2 separate regions of the Homo sapiens genome follow, and region 1 is linked to region 2. The links are contacts of gene promoters, found by promoter capture Hi-C in blood cells and fetal thymus (Javierre and others, 2016). All regions are on one chromosome and are shown on one strand. Each heading gives the region's core, a stretch centred on a gene start or on the middle of the fragment in contact. The rest is flanking DNA. Distances are from core to core; before and after follow the strand shown.

Evidence for each region. The method cuts DNA at HindIII sites, captures the fragments that hold promoters and counts their contacts. A CHiCAGO score of 5 or more calls a contact.
Region 1: a contact is called between a fragment that was not itself captured here and the fragment with the promoter of LHX2 in region 2, in 1 of 17 cell types (M1 macrophages). The highest score is 6.5, in M1 macrophages.

Annotation. Positions count from the first base shown.
Region 1 is chr9:123,758,086-123,761,061 of GRCh38, forward strand. All of the region lies in intron 4 of DENND1A (DENN domain containing 1A), which reads right to left. Among named protein-coding and RNA genes, the nearest start is that of DENND1A, 170 kb to the right of the region's middle. The HindIII fragment of the contact is 1,691 bases long and covers 441-2,131 here.
Region 2 is chr9:124,009,923-124,013,178 of GRCh38, forward strand. LHX2 (LIM homeobox 2) reads left to right here and starts at 1,846. Exons shown (of 5, transcript NM_004789.4): 1 at 1,846-2,546. The coding sequence starts at 2,427. RefSeq lists a silencer at 1,770-1,819 and an enhancer at 2,758-3,256. The HindIII fragment of the contact is 7,434 bases long and covers 1-3,256 here.

The sequences.
Region 1 (2,976 bases), core at 36-2,535, 250 kb before region 2:
CAGCTCTGTTAGTCAGCCCATCAATTCCGAAAGGTGCCCTCTATTAACCTCATTTTGCTGATGAAGAAATAGTCTAGAGAGGCATTGCCTAAGGTCAGCTGATCAGTGGCAAAAAGCTGGATTTTAACCCTCGCGCTGATTCCACAGGCCACTCTACCAGCTTGCTGCTAACAATCCTCACCTGAGAACTTCCCTAGTTCAGAAAATAAGAGTGCTTGCCAGAGCAAAAGGTAAATGTTACTATGTGCCAGCCACAAAGTTAGACATCATATATGCGTAGACCATCTCCCTGACTCTCAGGACAACCATGGAATTTAGAGGATGTTCCCATTTTACAGAAAAGGAAACTAAGGACCAGAATACATCCTTAGTAACTGAATCACGTTCACACAGCTACAAAGAGGAGGAGCTGAAATTGAAACTGGAAAGAAAACAGGGCAAGCTTAGGTGTTACTTTCCTAAATTCCTATATCTTTCATAATTTCTGAATTTATGAGAAACATATTTCCTATTTTAGAGGACAGAAATAACCAAAATGTCTAGCATTGCATGGTGTTTTCTAAGAAATGGAAACAACATTTTAAAGAAAGACGTTAAAGGAAAAAAGCTAAAAATATATCAATACAAAAATTTAAAAACCACACATAAACGCAACATTAAAATATCTATTTTTAAAAATTTTAAAAACAATACTAATCAGATTACAGAAACTCTTTGTTTTGTTTTTCTGTTTTGAGATGTAGTCTCGCTCTGTTGCCAGGCTGGAGTGCAGTGGTGTGATCTCAGCTCACTGCAACCTCCACCTCCCTGGTTCACACAATTCTCCTGCCTCAGCCTCCCGAGTACCTGGAACTACAGGTGCCCGCCACCATGCCCAGCTAATTTTTTTATATTTTTAGTAGAGACGGGGTTTCTCCATGTTAGCCAGGATGGTCTTGATCTCCTGACCTCGTGATCCACCTGCCTCGGCCTCCCAAAGTGCTGGGATTACAGGCGTGAGCCACCGCGCCCGGCCAAACTCTTTTTTTAAAGTTGTAAAATGTCTAAAAATCCAGTTTTTAAAATCAGTTTACCAGTTAGCTTGGATTTCATTCCATTTTAAAAATTTAAACATCCCGCTTCCGTCACAGTTATGGCGGCTAAGGCTACCACCTACTTGCCCAGCTGTTGCTGCTAGAGCTTGTAGACAAATGTATAGGCTCAAGAATTCACATTGTGGTGAAGAGTCATTAAGAAATCGTGGGTACTCTTCTAGGAGTTGATGACTTTGTCAAGATGGACTAGAAGAGGTCACTGAGTTTGAAATCACACCAGAAGGAAGAAGTACTATTGTTGTTATTATTATTACTATTACTTTGAGACACAGTCTTGTTCTGTCACCCAGGCTGGGGTACAGTGGCACAATATTGGCTCACTGCAACCTCTGCCTCCCGGGTTCAAGTGATTCTCATGTCTCAGCCTCCTGAGTAGCTGGAATTTCAAGCGTGCACCAACACGCCCAGCTAATTTTTGCATTTTTAGTAGACAGAAGGTTTTGCCATGTTGGCCAGGCTGGTCTCAAACTCCTGGCCTTAAGTGATCCGCTTGCCTCAGCCTCTCAAAGTGCTGGGATTACCGCCTGGCCAGGAAGAAGTATAATTAAATTAGAGCAGATTTTGCTAAGTGGAAATAATATAACAATGCTAGTTCCTGTCAGAGAAGAACCTGAAGAGTGAATGGGTTTCCCTACCTTATGCTAGATTCAGTTTTGTCTTATAATGGCAACAAAATAGAATTTGCTTTTTACCTTTAAATGCTTAGATCCCATAAAGCTAAATTTCGCATTCAAGGGAAATCCTTTGAAGATGTATATCCATTTTTGTAAGTTACAGTAATTATCTCAGAAAAAGAAGAAAAGAGTTTTTTCTCTGAAGATTAAAATAAAGGTATTTTTGGTTAAAAAATCCAAATTCTAATACATGAATTTATATTAACGTAATATGCTAGAATTCAACACTGAGTTATTCAAAGGAACTCATCAACTCATATTGTATTTTACAAAGTGTATTCAAATTGGTAAAATAGTCAAATCTATGCTATCAATTATTACTTTATAAATTATCAGAAGAAATTTAAAAATCATGGTTTACCAAGCTTTTTCCAAAGGTAGAATTCTTATTGAGTCTTTGGATATGATATGAATAAAGTTTTCAAAGATAGGGTAGACTTTCTAAAACTCCCTTATACAGCCACATAAATAATTAAAATTAAAGGAATTTTCAAGGTATTCCAATACAAAGGTCAATGGACTCTGCCTGGTCATATTTAAGGAGACAACTCCATCTCTTAGAGAGTGGTTAGAGAGTACAAGAAAATAATTCAGAAAGAAAAAGTGTTCCACTCTCCTTATTTAACTAGGAAGGTGAACAAAAACAAGGTGGCAATTTAAAAGCAACGTGGTCATAAAGCAGGTGTAAGTAATGCTATCCCTCCACCTTACACAGCCAGGAGAAGAAACACATTTCTATAAAAGTTATAGGGCCGTCAAGGGGACACCAAACGCTACCTTCCTATGCCTGTTATGTTTTATCCATAAAGCTTGGATACTGTGTTACTATGGTGATTTAATACTATGTTTTAAAGGGGGATTATATGATTAATTTTAACAAGGTTGAGAACTGAAGATGTGTGAGAAACAGCATTCTAGCTCACATAATTAAAGTGATTGGGGAGAAAAGTGGGCCTCAATGGGGGAGGGGAAATCCTGTTTTATTAAAATATTTAAAGCAACAGGTCTGGATGATTCCAAGTTACAAATAAGGTTGTGCTTTTAAGAAACACTACTACGTGATCATACAAAATATGATTGTTCAGTGTTTTAACTCAGGTTTTGATTTCACTTCTAGAATGTTTAAAATGAATACTAAGTATCATCCTAGAAAGGAAGGGTATCGATAGGACTCGATGAAAAGAAAACACCCAGGATTCTCCAGGAAA
Region 2 (3,256 bases), core at 596-3,095:
CCTGAGCACGCAAGTGCAGGTATAACGTGCAATTTACCATTTTGCAGTTGCATCCTTCTTCCCAGCTCTAGACACTTACACCTGATGCGCATGTGTAAGACCCTAGCTCTTCAGTGGTGCTGGCTGTGATTTTGCCAACAGAGATAAAATTCGTGCTGGCTGTGTTATTGCCAACAGAGATGAACATGTGTATTTGCACACATGAACACAAGTTCATGTGCTTGGGCATTACACGCATACATATATTTGTGCACACATATATTTGTGTGTGAAAGTTACTTACACACGTGAAAAACATGATTTCATGCCTCAACTCTGTACCCTGTGAGGTAAACCGCAGGTCCTGACTATCCCCTTACCTGTCCTGGCAAACAAGTCATTTCAGACTGACACCCGCCTTGTCCCTATTAGACGGAGCCAAACCTGCCTCCGAAGCAGACCCAGATGGGACTCTGTAACCGAAGTGCTTATTCAGTTTTTGTCTACAATCATTTTATTTCCTAAATCCCTCCCCCACCAGACACCTGGGTATTTCCCTCCAGTCCCCAGGAGACTCTAGGGTGAGCCTGAAACCTGGAGGCTGGGGGTAGCAGTTGGGATTTACCCAGCACGCTACTTTGTTGGCCCCTGGGGAGGTGGTGCAGCCAGGCGGGTAAGGAGGACTCGCGCCATCAGCGGGGTCTGAGACATGGTGTGCCCAGTGGGCAGAGAATAGGCCTGTGGTTTTTAAGAACCTCACTGATATCGAATGTGTCTTGGAGTGAGAAAGTTTTTAATGGAAAAGGAGCAAGAGAGAGTAATGAAATAATTTGCTAAGTGCCTACTATGTTCCAGGCATTTTACATCCACAGTCTCTTTCAATCAACACGTCCATGCGGAGGAGAGCTTCTTGTCGCCCATTATAAAGGTCAGAAACAGGCTAAGGGAGGATAAGTCACTGCCTAAGGTTACAGTGCATGTAAATGGCAGAGCTAGGATTCGAACCCTGGCCTTTCTGAGTTCCTAAAGCCATGCTCGCCCCCACTCTTCCAGGCTGGGGAGAGACCGGGAAGAGCGAGAAGCTACACGCTGGGCTGCAGATTGGGCCCTAGCGGGCTTGGAGCGTGGATATGCTGGCTGGCCCCCCTCCCCGGGAGTCACAGCTCTCGCCGGTCTCGCCACTCAGGCTCTGCCGGGTACCCAGGAGGCTTGCACGGCCGCCTGCAGCCCGCTGTGCAGAGCCCGGGCCGAAGGCGGAGCTCGATGGGAAACGGCCGGCCGAAGGCTCTTGCAACTCTGCCACAGGCCTGCCTTCCCGGGCCTCCCAGGCGGGTGCCTGAGGCCGCGGCTCCAGGCCGAGGGGAGACCGCAGTGAGACGAGCATCCCCTTGCTGCGCCTTCTTAGGATAGAGGGTTTAATTTTCCTTTCTGAAGATATCGCAGGAAGCTGTTCGTATCTTAAAAACTCCAAACCCCGCGCTCTCCCTCCTCCCTGCCTCCCCCCCACCCCCGCCCTCCAGCCTCGCCCACCAGCTCCCACCATCTCGACTCTCCTCTGCTCCTCTTGCCTCTCCCCTCCCTCTTGGGTCTCCCGCCTTCCCGGAGCACGCGCTGCCAGGGCCTGGGGCGCCGAGCGGCCAATGGCACGGCGGCAGGACGTGATGTCAGGCGCGGCTGTAGAAAAGGCGCGGAGGCTTGCGCTGGCGCGGACTGCAGAGCCGGGGCTGGGCTAGGCGCGCGCTTGGAGAGCATTGCGCGCGGCTGGGCCCGCGGCCGGCGGCTCCTCCTCCCACTCTGCTCCTCCTCTTTTTTCTCCTCCTCCACCTCCTCCTCCGCCTCCTCCTCCTCCTCTTCCTCCTCCTCTTCAATTCTCCCGGTGGCTCGACTCGGCTCGCAGGCTTCGGAGAAACCCCTACTCCAGTCGCCGACTCAGCGCCCAAGAGGGTCGCCTTGGGCTGGGGGCGCACCCCAGGGAGGGGAGGGGTCCAGGCAGCTGGGCCGCCGCGGACACCTAGCGGCTTCAGGGTGAACCCCGACCGCAGCCGTCGCCGCCTCGGGCAGAGTTTGCGCCCTTGCTTTGCGCCCCGGGCGCTGAAGCCGGGCGGGCGATGCCCGCGGCGTGAAAGCGCCCGCGGCGGGCGCCGACCTCTGTCCTAGTCTCCTGCTCCCCCCGCCCCGCTTGTCCCGTGCCCTTGTGACCCTGGCTTTGGCGCCGTCGCCCAGGCGCCCCGCAATGTAGCTGCCCCTGCGCCTCGGCGGGAGGCGTCCTGCCCCGCGAGCGCCCGGGGCCCGGAGCCCGGCCTGGGGGCTCAGCCGAGCTCGGGCGGGGCCGGGGCCGCGGTGGCGATGCACCGGGCCCGTTAGCGCCAGGAGCGCCAGGCAGCTGAGGCGGGGGGCAAGCCCTCCCTCGGAGGAGCCGCGCCCCCGGCCCCGCCGGTCCCGCCGCGATGCTGTTCCACAGTCTGTCGGGCCCCGAGGTGCACGGGGTCATCGACGAGATGGACCGCAGGGCCAAGAGCGAGGCTCCCGCCATCAGCTCCGCCATCGACCGCGGCGACACCGAGACGGTAGGCGCGCGGCTGTGGGGTCGGGGCTGAGAGCTGGGATGGGGCCGGGCCAGTCAGCGCCTCTGCTCCCCGAAGTTTGGGGAGCGTCCTTCGTGCCGCACGGGACTGGGTGCTGGGGATCCTCGGTCAGAATGCAAGGCCGGTGGCTCCCGGTTCGGGGGAAACCCGGCTGCTGGGACGCAGAAGGGAAACAAGGTTGAAACCGAAATCTCGGCCCTGGGGGTAGAGGAGAGCGTTTCTTCCGAACTGGAAGCGAAGTCCCATCCGCGGCCCGGGGCGGCTCCCTTCTCACCTTGCCCGGTGCCGGGGTCGACAGCCCCGCGCTCTCCTCCACCTCTCGGCTCCGGTTGCTGGCGGCGCCGCGAGCGGCGCCAGGGAAGGGCGAACCAGCTGGGAGCATTGGGGCTCCAGCCGGCTTGGGCCGCTCCCAGCTTTCCGGCAATCGGGGATCCTCCTCAACCCCCAGCGCAGTTTCAGAGGCCGAAGTCTTCGGGGCCAACATTTGTCGTTGATCGCGTCCCCAGACCCTTGACTGGTCAGACTTAGCCAGGCCAGGGCTGGGAGTTCAGGCTCCGGCCTGGCCCTCGCCGAAGGAGACTCCATTTGGATCTCTACACCTGGCTCCGCGGGCCCAGCCCCAAATAGCCAGTTCCTCGCCTCAGGCCTCCCTGGGGGCCAGACGAGCAGACACTGCCCGACCAGCGGGCCCA